Linked DNA regions of Homo sapiens: region 1 is linked to region 2. The links are contacts of gene promoters, found by promoter capture Hi-C in human tissues and cell types (Jung and others, 2019). All regions are on one chromosome and are shown on one strand. The core of a region is centred on a gene start or on the middle of the fragment in contact, and the rest is flanking DNA. Distances in the headings are between cores, read along the strand shown.

Region 1 (6,557 bases), core at 210-2,709, 100 kb before region 2:
AGGCTGAATGACAAATTTTCTTGATTGCCACAGTCCACCTCTTTCTCTGGACAGATCTGCTTCTCTATGCAAATTTAGGGAACACATCCTCCATGTTTCCTATGGGCTTTTCTTCCTGAGGGAAAACTTAGAAGGAAGTTAGTGAGATGAACTGGAGCCCCATTGCTGCAGTTGGGCTTGAGACTGCAACAAGGTACTTAACTTCTCCCACCTCTATTATCCATTCCAAGTCCTCTCAACCCTCAGCTATCACCTTGGCAAGTAATGGTAGCTTACCTTGTGGTGTGACCCAAACCTTCATTCCTGATGGGTCTGAGCTCTTGGCAGTCATACCCTTTTCAAGTCAGGGTCGTTGTACATGTCCTTTCACAGCTACAGTGGGCCAAAGGAGTACCAGCAGGCTTCCAAGTAGATGACATAGGAGTTGCATACATATTCCTATCCTTATTGTCTATAAGCAGCACTACCTTCTCCCAATGATCAGGGTTGATTACCCCTGCCAAGATGTGACCCTATTCTTGCCTGCAGGTCTCTGGACATGAGGTGTCCAAACTGCCCTGGCAGTATCTATAACATATAGTTCAATGAGACACTCACTGTCCCCTGGCAAGAGTGCACTCCCTCTCGGGACCTCCAGCCCTGCAGAGCCCAGAGTTGCACATATGGGGAGCCCAAAATCCCCCATTGAGAGTTATTGGGAGTGATGGTAGATAGGGCTAGTCCTGATTACACCCATCGATGGCCATTGTGTTCCTCCTGCTGATGACATGGTACCATATAGAGGTCTCTGAGTTAGCTCAGATCCCCATGTCATCTACCACAGTTGCAACAGCATCCCTTTCCCAGTTGGTACCTTTGGCTAAAATGGGGCTAGAGGAAAGGGTTCCCATACGACCAGCTAAAGGAAGAAGAATAATCCTGAGCTTCTCTCTGCAAAGGATGGCACTGCCTCCTTTGAGAGTGTTGCTTCTGAGCTGACGTTTCAGCTGTGCCTTTAGATAGCTGTTCCAGTGTTCTGTGAAGTTGGCTACTTCTAAATGATTTTGTTGTAGAAGATATAGCTAGAGCTCCCATGGTCATGAGTTCAATCCTGCATCTCCTTTACTGTGAAATGGGTCACCTGTTCAAATGTTTTTTGTGTGGTATTCTATACCCATAGATCAGACATTCTTTAAGCCCCTGGATTATGGTGCTGGCTAAGGTACTACAATCAGGAAAGACAAGCCTGTACCCAGAATAGGTGAAAACAACCCTCTAGCCCTTGTAGTTGACTTACCACCAAGTGGCCAGTTGGTCTCATTAATAAATAGTGATATAACAGCATTGATCTCTGTTGCTGACAGGTTGGACATTCAGAAGCAGCAGAAGCTAGGTCAGCTTTGGTGATGGGAGGTCCATGCTCCTGGGCCCATGCATAGCCTGTCTCTGGCAGCATGGCCACTTTTTTCTTATGCCAAAATGTCAGTTTCAGGGTAGCCAACAACAAAGACTGGCTTATATAAACTGGTCTGGTTATTATATCTGCTTCACTGTTCACAATCTCTTCCATGGTAGATGCTTTCTATTGGGCCATAATATGTCACACTAAACTCTTCATGTTTACCTGCATACCTCTACCCCAGAACTCCTTCTCTAAAATCTTTCAATTATTTTCTTTCCAGGCCCCGACCAGACAGCCAGGACATTGGCTATTTCCCAAGTCTATATATACTGGGCCACTTCTCATTCCACAAGAAGTCAATGACTAGGTGCACTTTTTACAGATCCACGCACTGGGAAGATTTTCCCTCTCCACTGTCTTTCAAGGCTATCCTTGAATGTGGTTGTAATGCAGCCATGGTCCATTTTGAGCTTGTACTCACATACAGAACAGACCCACCCAAAAATCAAGCTTAAGCTTTCCTTCTACTTCAGTTGGTCTTACGGGGCCCCCATATGGCCATAGGAACAAGCTAGGGAAGGGTGTTATTTCAGCTGTTGTGAATGACATGCTGGTCTGAGCTACCTGCGCATGCAATTTGCCATGTCCTTTGTCCTTCTCAGGCTCAATCCTTGATGTAATTTTCCATATTAAAGTAGACTACTGCTGGACCTATACAGCCTTGTGATTTAACATATCCAGCAGAACCAAACTTGTAATGTGCAGTTCTAGACCCATGGTCACTTTGTGCCCCATGGTGAAGCACTCTGCCTCTACCAGTCCCAGTAATTCACCAAGAGCTTTTTCTCAAAAGACATATAATTCTATGCTACAAATGGCATAGCCTTGCCCCAGAATTCCAGGGCCCTATGTTGTTATTCTCCCAATGATACTTGCCGTAAGACACTGCATGTTTTCCCACCACTGTCACCTACACCATGAGATGTGCTGGATTGTATGCCCCAAGTGGCAGCTCTGTTTGCAGTGCAGCCTGGACCTCTTCACTCAAAGCTGGCAACTTTCTATGTCACTCAATCTAGCAGTATTCATAGGTTTGGAATACGCCGCCTCCAGAACCCAAAGAGGCCTACCAGCCACTTCATTTCCTTCTTTGTGGTGGCACACGCAAGATGCAGCAATTTTCTTTTACTTTGAAGGGGATATCTTGTCATGTTTATGACCATTGCATTCCTAAAACACTTCATTGAAGTTTCAAATCCCTGAATCTTCATAGGATTTATTTCCAACCCTCTGGAACACTGTGTCTTACCAAGGCCTTTAGCATACTAGTGCCTTCTTGCTCATTCTAAACAATCAGCATAATGTCATCAATGTAATGTATCAGACGAATGTTCAGGCAGTCCAGATTTCTTCAGAGTATATTATGACAGAAGGCAGGAACATTAACATAGCTCTAAGTCAAAAGTGTAATTGAAAATTATTATCTAACCCACAGGAATGTGAACTGTTTCTGATCCTCTCTTCTAATTGGAATAGAAAAGAATGTATTTATCATATCAGTTGCCACATACCATGTGCCTGAGACCTCATTAATCTGTTCTATTAATCACACAGTGTCCGGCAAAGCAACTGCAATTGGGGCTACTAATTGCTTGACTCCGAACTCCTGAAAGTCTGCATAGGTACCCAGTCTTACATACTTTTCTGTCTAGAGCATCTAGGACCTAGCAGGTATTCTATATGTATTTTATGAATGGATTAATAAATTCAGTATGACATTCAAGAAGATGCCTACTAACAGGTTGATTTAGCTGATGACCCTAGCTCATAGGGTTATGAGGATTAAATGAGTTACTAAATGGAAAGTGTTTACAATAGTGTCTGGCACATAAAAAGCATTCAGTAAATCTTATCAATTGTATTTTTCCAGGCCGCAGAGAACCATCAGATATGATAGAGAGATTGACATTAAGCTAACTCCTTGACCATAAGTTTAAATGAAACATGAGAGACATGTGTTGGCCTTTAAAGTGAAAGAGTCTGCAATATTTTTCTGAGAATGTGAGGTTTCCAAGGAAAACTCAAAAGAAAACTGATTGTAAAGCTGGAAAGAAAGAATTACTTATAGAAACAGACACTTTCATAGCTAGTGGAGAGAAAAAGGTGGTTACTATGTGCCAATTCATTACTAGCATTGCTATATTTAGGATAATTTTGAGGGCCAAATGTGGTGGCTCATGCCTGTAATCCCAGCTCTTTAGGAGGCCAAGGTGGGAGGACAGCTTAAGCCCAGCAGTTTGAGACCAGCCTGGGCAACATAATGGGACCCCATCTCTACAAAAAAAACAAAACAAAACATTGAAAATTAGCTGGGGGTGGTGGCGCATGCCTGTAGTCCCAGCTACTCTGGAGGCTGAGCCCAAGAGGTTGAGGCTGCAGTGAGCTATGATGGTGCTACTGCACTCCAGCTGGGTGACGGAGGGGTCTCAAATTAAAAAAAAAAAGAAAAGAAAAGAAAGATAATTTCAGAAAAATCTCAAAGTTAAAATTTTTGACAAATGCTTTTTACTAATAAAGCAAAACATGATCTTGAAATAAAATGAATGAGTGCAATTATGCCCACTAGCCATTTCACAAAAATGGTGTTTTCCATTACCTAAATGACTATTTCCATATAAAAATTAATTAAAAGTACACTCACAGTTTTCATCTCTGACATAGGTCAATGTAACAGCTAATACAGGAAAATGAAAAGGTATAATAACAGGACATACACACCCCTACTCTTCATTAGAAGAAAAAAGAATATTTTTTCTTGTATAATACTGTGATTTGAGAGGCCTTAAAGCTGCTATTCTCTGACATTAGCTTTGTGGTCAAATTTAAAATGATCTTGATAACTCTCAGGAAACCCCAAGTCTCATAAAACTTTCCCAACAATTTTCACAATGAGAGCTGTGAAATAATTTCAGGGTCTCTAGGAAAGAATCCACACTTGCTACTTTTAAGAAAGCTAGGAAGTGGGTTGTTGGACAAGATCTAAACATGAATTCTTTCATCTACAAAAAAAGTTGAGCCACTATGAAGAATTTCCAGTGGCCACTCTGTTATCAATATCTCACAACTAGGTCTAGACGACCTCAAAACTTGGGAAATTGCTTTGCTGCTTTATTGCCAGTATCTCTGTCTTTACAGAGCCTTCCAGAATAGAATCACTAGATTGAATTTATTCCTCCAGTAAGTCAGTTGCTTATTAGCACTTTTAACATCCAGATGGTTTGAGACAAAGGCTAAACCAGGGATAATTCCCAAGTATAAACAGTGGAAACTCTCTTTTGCTGAGGGACTCTAGTCTACTGGGCTATGGGCCAGGGCATGGGTTTCTTTTGCAACATCCCAACACTGCTGTGGCCTTTTCTATAACCCTTGCAAGTGAAGTCACCTGAAAAGCCAAGAGTTAAACTGGCTGTACAGTCTGAACTGTGAAGTTTGGAAATAAATTCAAATGGACCAATAGCCTGGATCTGTTTCATGAATAAACAGAGGAGTTCAGGCTTAGGACCCTATAAAGTTAAGTCAATATTAGTTATAGAGGAAATCCTGTTTGTTCTTCTTCTGTTGTAATTGTCTTTTTAAAAAGAACTCAGGTAGAGCTTTGGGGTATGTTATAATGCTCAAAACATCCTTTAAACATACACATACACATACACACACACACACACGCACACACACACGAGTGTTTATAACCAAGAAGAAAGCAAATCACTGTTGTCCTTACTGTTAGGTACACGAGAATTAAAAGTGTTTGCTCAATATCCTTAAAAAATACAACTTAAAATGCCCTAACTTATGAAATGGGAAATACTTATCTAGGTTCTGATGCCATATAGTCACCTTATCATGATTATTACAATAAAGATAAGTAAGTGATTGCTATTAAAGCCCTTTAGTTATGCTGATTTGGCACAAATTTTTCCCAGTACTCATCACCTAGAAATTACACATAACAAGGTCTGAGTAATCCAGTGTTTAAACTTTGAGGGTACTAAGAGAGTGATTTCTAACCTCTTTGAAATTATGACACCCTATTTTGCCCGTTAGACATCACAACTCTTGCTCCTGTTATACTGTCTCCACACACTCAAGGAAAGCAATCTATTATATGATATAAAAAACACTTAAATGAATTTAAATTAATCTTAATTTCTTCAGGCTTTTACTTGTTTTTCTTTATAATTACCTCTTCTTTGAAGCTGAGTCACCCTAGGTTTAAGCCAGAATTAACCTCTCCTCTTCGTGTATTCTTTTAGCTCTTTATGTGGTATAAATCTATATTACAGATTTTTTTTTTGAGACAGGATCTCTCTCTGTCACCCAGGTTGGAGTTCAGTGGCACTATCTCAACTCACTGAAGTGTCGATCTCCTGGCTCCCCTACTTCAGTTTACCAAGTAGCTGGGACCACAGGTGTGCACCACCACACTCAGCTAATTTTTTTTATTTTTGTAGAGGCAAGTTTTCGCCATGTTGCCCGGGCTGGTCTTGAACTCCTGAGCTCAAGCAATCTGCTTGCCTCCGCCTCCCAAAGTGCTGGGATCACAGGCGTGAGCTGCCATGCCCAGCCTATATTACAGTATTTTTAAATCATATTTTTGTTGATTAATTTTAAGTCTTTCCCCCTGGCTTAAATGTAAGGGCCATGTTTATTCATCTTTTTTCCAGAATTTCTAGCACAGTGCTTAATACAAAGGGAGATTCAATACATGCTAGATGAAGGAATAATGAATGAATGCACAATGGCTGTGGAGGCAGAAATATACCAGCATGTCAAAAATATCAACCCAAGAATTATTATTCTAGTAGCTTAAAGATATGCCTGTATAAGATCATCTGTTACAGAACTTAAATCCAGTGAGAAAATGGATGCAAAAATACTTTATAAACTGTAAAATCATACACAAATGTGAGCAAATGTCACTGTTACTTACTGTTTAGTATCCTTCAGGGAATAGTTTCTGAATTTGTGAATCAAACTTTGAAAAACAGTATGAACTTAACTCATTGGAATAGTAGGACCATGAAAGGAATAATAAATGGAAGCCAGTTAACAACAAGTTGTCATTTGTCTATAATGTAATGCAGTAGGAGTTCAGTTTTGGAAAACCAGGCCTTGGTGA
Region 2 (6,974 bases), core at 20-2,519:
CACGCCACCACGCCCGGCTAATTTTTGTATTTTTAGTAGAGACGGGGTTTTACCATGTTGGCCAGGATGGTCCGATCTCCTGACCTCGTGATCCACCCGCCTCTGCCTTCCAAAGTGTTGGGATTACAAGCGTGAGCCACCGCGCCCGGCTTTTTTTTTTTTTGAAACAGAATCTCTATTGCCCAGGCGGGCTGGAGTGCAACGGCGCGACCATGGCTCACTGCAACCTCGATCTCCCTGGCTCAAGAGATCCTCCCACATCAGCTTCCCGAGTGGCTGGGACCACAGGCCCATGCCAACATGCCCAGCCTTTTTTTTTTATTATTCTTATTCTTATTCTTATTCTTATTATTATTGTAGCGACGAGGTCCCACTGTATTAAAATAATATAGTGATCTCAAACTCCTGGGTTCAAGCGATCCTCCGCCCTCGGCCTCCAATAGCGCTGGGATTACAGGCGTGAGCCACCACACCCAGTCTCTTTTTTACAAAGAATATAAATAGCCGGTGGATGTCAGACTATTTCGTTATGGAAAGATGCTCTCAAAAGACGAAATAGATAAATCGAAAGAAAGTGTCCATTTTTTCTCAGTGGCCTAATCTGTCAGGTACCATGCTTGGTTTTGGGGGCATAGAAAGACATTAGCGCCCTCATGGAGTTCAAAGTCTGGTGGAAGAAATCAATCATAATAACAATGAGGGGTTAACGACAACAGACCCTTGAAAGATAACATCTCCAGGGAATAAGGAAGAGCATTCCAAAGTATTTTGCCAAATGGCAAAAACCGCAGTTACTTTTGCACCAACCTTAATGCAAATAAAAGCATGTACACAAACAAGATACTCGAGGAAGAATACAGCTGACACACAGAAACGGATCGTTATCTTGTGGCTTTCCTGCAGCCTCGTTCCTTTCAGTCACATAACACCCCAAATCTGTGGACGGTTAATGAGAGCTAGTATCACCCAGAGTCACGGCTGTTGACTCGGACGACTTTAGATGCAGCCCGCCAGCGGGAGAAACTGGAGGGAATCCGCCATACACAGGAACCTAGAAGGGCTACGTGACAGGGGCTGCCCCGCAGCTCTCAGCCGCCGGCACTCCCAGCCAGGTTTTCCCGCCAGTCTCAGTTCCTAGATCTTCCGAGGCTCCGCCCGCCGCCGAGCGGTCGGAAAGTTTTAAGGAGGGGGAAGTGTTGCAAGCCTATCGATATCTCTGGAATAGACTGCGCTACCCTGCGCCGCCGCCGTCAAACTCCCGCAGACTTCTCTGTAGATCGCTGAGCGATACTTTCGGCAGCACCTCCTTGATTCTCAGTTTTGCTGGAGGCCGCAACCAGGCCCGCGCCGCCACCATGGTACGTTGAATCCCGATCTCTGGAAGGTTTAGGGCAGAGCTCTGGTGACTGGGGGATGACGAGCCACCTCTCCTGTCATCCTTAGCGTCGCCCGGTGCCACGAGGTATGAGAGCCTCGGCAGACGGCCGGGCTCCGGCAGTGATTCAGCATCTCCGGCCTGGCCGGGCTAGGGGTTATCGGTAGCCAGTGCGGCCTTTCCACCGCTTTCGCTTCCCGGGGAGCCTCCGACACTTCCTCCTCGGTCAGCTAGATGAGTTCGCCCCTCAGGTTCCTTCAGTGGAGTAGATTCTGAGCGGTCCAGAATAGCTCCTAGTGCTGTGTATGGGAGAGGAGAAGACAGAGACTTGACTTGGAGGCCTACCTGTACCACCAGTGCGGACTTGACCCCCAGGTTTGTGTTCCTGGACAGCGTCCGTTTTCCTGGTGGGTCCGTCTATTTATCTCTCGCCTAGACTTCGATTAGAAGAGGCCCTTTTCAATCATTTTGTCCAGTCACCTAGTTGCGGATGAGTAAGCCGAGGCTGAGAGGGGAAGTGATGGAATCAGGGTTACAATATAGGGTTCTGGGTTTCCAGTTCTGTCTGCCATTCTAGCACTCAATCTCACTCCCATGACTATTATTATAATAGTCGTAATAGCCGTAATGGTTCTATCGCTGCAGCTATTTGTGTCCACCTCTAACTTTGTGAGGACATTTTTGTTCATTCAATGTGAATATACAGACAGCACTTGTACAGGCATAACTACAGTGAACATTAAAAAATAAGTCATACATGTCCCTAATCATAAAAACAGAAAGGGACGTTTAGATAAAGAGCTGTGGGAGTATATGTTAGGGGGATTTGGGAAGAAAAGGAGAAGACTTCAAGAAATCGACATTTAAGCTACCTTAAAGAAAAGGAAGACTTTTAACCATTTATTAGGGCCCAATAAAAGGGAGCAGCATAAGCAAAAATAGGCAAGAAAGTTGATTGTGAACTTTAGTAATTGAGCCTAAAGGGGTTGATATGGAGGGTGTTAGAATAAGAGTTTGGAAAAATAGGACCCATTTAGATCTGCTTCTCCCTCTCCCACGAGTTTATGGTAAATGTAGAATTGGCTTACATCTGAGTACAGTAGTAATCTTCCAGTAAGACTGCATGAACAGAGTGCCTTAACATTGAATGGAAATACAAGCATATTTCTTAATGAATGTTAAGAGTTGGGATTTGAAATGTTCTTCTATTAACAGGTATTTTTTTCTTTTACTTTTAGTTTCGAAATCAGTATGACAATGATGTCACTGTTTGGAGCCCCCAGGTAAAATAATGTTTTTAAACCTTTTCTGTGAAGTGGCTTTTTGTGGCTGCAATATATTTAGAAACTTGTGAGAGCGTAGGCTTGGGGAAAATGGAATATAATTATTTTAGACGTTCTTGGAAGTTGCATTTATAATTAAAATAGGTTTCCTGATGGACCTAGAGGACATTATGTTAAGTGAAATAAGCCAGAAACAGAAAGAAAAATGTTTCATGCTCTCACTTATATGTGGAATCTTTTGTTTAAAAGGGCAAATATATATATAGAGAGAGTAAAACAGTGGTTACCAGGGTAGGGGGTGGCAGTGGGGAGGAAAAAAGAGGAGATACAAAGTAGCAAATATGTAGGTTGAGCAAGTGGAAAGATCTAATGTACAACATGAAGACTACAGTTAATAATGCAGGTAGTGTTTTGTATTCAAGATTTTTGTTAAATGAGTAGTTTATAGCCCTTGCCACAGCAGAGGAAAATGGGTAACTATGTGAGACAACGGATGTGTTCATTCTGCGATAGTGACCCTACTATATATGTGTATCTTATAACATCATGTTGCATACGTTAAATATACACAAGAAAATTTATTTTAAAAGAAGCTTTCAGCCGGGTGCAGTGGCTCATGCCTGTAATCCCAGCACTTTGGGAGGCCAAGGAAGGTAGATTGCTTGAGTCTTGGAGTTCAAGACCACCCTGAACAACATGAAACCCGGACTCTACAAGAAATACAAAAATTAGCTGGGCGTGGTGGTGCTTGCCTATAGTCCCAGCTACTGTGGACAGTGAGGTGAGAGGACTGCTTGAGCCTAGGAGGCAGAGGTTGTACTGAGCTGAAGATTGTGCCACTGCACTCCAGCCTGGGTGACAGAGTGAGAACCTGTCTCAAAAAAAAAAAAAGGTCTCTTGATTAAAAAAAAAATCAGTTGAGATTTAACTGTGCTCACCTGATATTTGAAAACCCTAATTTTTAATTTATAAAAGATCTTCTAAGATGTGTGTTTTTTGTTTTTTTTTTCTTTAGGGCAGGATTCATCAAATTGAATATGCAATGGAAGCTGTTAAACAAGGTTCAGCCACAGTTGGTCTGAAATCAAAAACTCATGCAGTTTTGGTTGCATTGAAAGTAAGTACAGTAATAAATATGTCTTCCTCTGTAGAAAACAATGTAAATTTCACCATAGAAAATAAGGTTGTAAACTTATTTTTACATTTGTCTCTTTTTTTTTTTTTTTTACATCTTATAATGTCTCTATTTAGAGGGCGCAATCAGAGCTTGCAGCTCATCAGAAAAAAATTCTCCATGTTGACAACCATATTGGTATCTCAATTGCGGGGCTTACTGCTGATGCTAGACTGTTATGGTAAGTATAATCATGAAAAATAAACATCCTTTTTGTTTCATAATTGATTAGTTTTCTCAAAAAGATCCAGATAAGGTATTTTAGGAAGTTGTCTGCCAAAGTTCTTGTAAATTAAGATTATGAATACCTTGGTGGTTTTGAGTTTGTTATTAAATTTTCCATTTTTTGATCCCTGTAGGAGTAACTAATAAGATTAAACATTAGCACTTTTCAGAAGTCACTGAGTAATGTGATGTTTGTTAATACAATGTATATCGTTTGAGACCCTGTTATGTCTAAGAAGAACGTGATACTTTTGTCTGGTTTCTAAGGACAAGCTGAACCACACTTGTTTTCTTTGTGCTTGTTTTCTTCAATACATCAGTATTTATTAGACATTTATTTTTTGCAATGCTCAATACTGGATACTGCAGGGTATACATAAGTGACTCAGACATGGATCTTGTCTTAAGGGAACTTGAAGGCAAGTTTATCTATAAACTCAAATGTAGTTTATCTATAATATAACAGAAAAATTTCTGTGAGAGTCTAGAAGAGACAGATTATTTATGGTTAAAAGGCAATACATAAATGAAGAGATAGGGCTTTGAAATTGCACATATTGAGTTCTCACCTTCACCACTTAGTATCTGAGATTTGGCTAAATACCTAAACACTGAATTTTTTCCAGTGTTTTCTTTATCAAGGCTATTTTTAAATGTTATTTATTTATTTTTTTGAGATGGAGTCTCACTCTCACCCAGGCTGGAGTGCAGTGGTGTGATCTCAGCTCACTGCAACCTCTACCTCCCAGGTTCAAGCGATTCTCCTGCCTCAGCCTCCCGAGTAGCTGGGATTACAGGCACCCGCCACCACGCCTGGCTAATTTTTGTATTTTTAGTAGAGACGGGGTTTCGCCATGTTGGCCAGGCTAGTCTTGAACTCCTGACCTCAGGTAATCTGCCCACCTCAGCCTCCCAAAGTGCTGGGATTATAGGTGTGAGCCACTGCACCCAGCCTATTTTTAAATATTTTAAATTGCCTACTGTAAACCACTAACACAGAGCCTTTCAGGTATTATGTGAGTATGTGTGTTGTGGATGGCAGGTAGTTAGCTAAAACTAATCTTGTAAATTTGTGATTTGATTAGGAAAGAAAGAATATAAATTATAAGGGTGGGCCTGGCACAGTGGCTCCTACCTATAATTCTAGCTCTTTGAGAAGCTTAAGGTCAAGAATTTGAGACCAGGGCAACATAGTGAATCCCCATCTCTACAAAAAATTTTAAAACTTAGCTGGGTGTGGTGGCACACACCTGTTGTCCTAGCTACTCAAAAGGCTGAGGTGGGAGGATTGCTTGAGCCTAGGATTTCAAGGTTGCAGTGAGCTATGATAGTGCCACTGTACTCTAGCGTAGGCAACAGAGTGAGACCCTATTCTTTTTTTTTTTTTTGAGACGGAGTCTCGCGCTGTCGCCCAGGCTAGAGTGCAGTGGTATGATCTCGGCTCACTGCAACCTCCGCCTCCAGAGTTCAAGGAATTCTTCTGCCTCAGCCTCCCGAGTAGCTGGGACTACAAGCATGTGCCACCACACCCGGCTAATTTTTGCATTTTTAGTAGAGACGAGGTTTCACCATATTGGCCAGGCTGGTCTAGAGCTCCTGACCTCGTGATCCACCTGCCTCGGCCTCCCAAAGTGCTGGGATTACAGGCGTGAGCCACAGCACCTAGCCGAGTGAGACCCTATTCTTAAAACAACAGCAGCAGCAAAAACAGTGTAAATAGTAATGCTATGGTTTAAGAATTTCAGGCTGAGCATGGTGTCTCATGCCTGTAATCCCAGCACTCTGGGAGGCTGAAGCGGGTGGATCACCTGAGGTCCGGAGTTCAAGACCAGCCTGGCCAACATGGTGAAACCCTGTCTCTACTAAAAATAAAAAAATTAGCTGAACGTGGTGGCAGGCACCTGTAATCCCAGCTACTTGGGAGGCTGAGGCAAGAGAATCGCTTGAACCCAGGAGGCAGAGGTTGCAGTGAGCTGAGATCATGCCATTGCACTCCAGCCTGGGCAACAAGAGCGAAACTCAGTATTAAAAAAAAAAAAAAAGAATTTCAATTTACTCAGCCAGTCCCTTGCTCTAAGTCAGCAATATAATGACAGCCTTAAGGGTTTCCACCTACTCTTCAAAATGGAAAATGTATTATATTATCAAACATTTTATTTAACCCAATCTATAAAATATTGCCATGCCAACACATAATCAATATAAAAACTTTATTAATGAGTTATTGCACGTTTTTAGGTACTAAGTCTTTGAAATTTGGTATGTTATTTTGTACTTGGTGTACATCTCAATTCAGTCTAGCTACTTTTCAAGAGCTCCATAGCCACATGTGATTATTGCCTGCCATATTGGGCAGTATACTTTTAGGCAGCATTGGGAAATGGACTTAAATATAAGTACTGAACAAATAGCTTGGTTCCTGTAGTCAACCATGTGATGATCAGATGTGACATACGCATATACTGGACAAAGCAACATTGAGAAAAAGGAGCATATCCATTTCTTGTTTATCTTATTTATAGGCATAAATTCTCTTCTCCCCAATGTTAACCTTGCTTGAATTTCATCAGATTTAACAGTGAGACTCAGCGGCTAGTGTCCAGTATCTCCTCTAGAGTGCTTCTTATGAATAGAAGTAACAGTGGCAGAAACACGTAAAGATCCCCCCTGCTGTGTTTTCCATTTCTTATATTTGCTCTTTTGGAGAAATGTTAGTCTGCTTTCAAGAAAAAAGGACAGAGTAGATAATCTTTTTGCTGGTTCGAGATCTAGAATTACGACAAGCTTGCTGACAGTGGGAAGGATAAGAGAAGAGAGGTTGCTGTTTTTCTTTTGTTCAGCCTTCTCTTCTCTGTTCCATAAGTGCTCTGATACAAAGATTTTCTAGAGCTAAAAAATGTTTCAGTCTTTTTTAAAA

Evidence for each region. Contacts are between HindIII fragments. The study calls those that stand out against the background at their distance.
Region 1: a contact is called between a fragment that was not itself captured here and the fragment with the promoter of PSMA1 in region 2, in 2 of the 25 tissues and cell types used here (H1 embryonic stem cells and spleen).

The regions. Positions count from the first base shown.
Region 1 is chr11:14,618,614-14,625,170 of GRCh38, reverse strand. It overlaps a transcript of PSMA1 not described here. Among named protein-coding and RNA genes, the nearest start is that of PDE3B, 22 kb to the left of the region's middle. The HindIII fragment of the contact is 6,392 bases long and covers 1-4,655 here.
Region 2 is chr11:14,514,681-14,521,654 of GRCh38, reverse strand. PSMA1 (proteasome 20S subunit alpha 1) reads left to right here and starts at 1,269. Exons shown (of 10, transcript NM_002786.4): 1 at 1,269-1,358; 2 at 2,614-2,658; 3 at 3,674-3,775; 4 at 3,910-4,013. The coding sequence starts at 1,356. RefSeq lists enhancers at 1,138-1,327, 862-1,476. The HindIII fragment of the contact is 15,381 bases long and covers 1-4,234 here.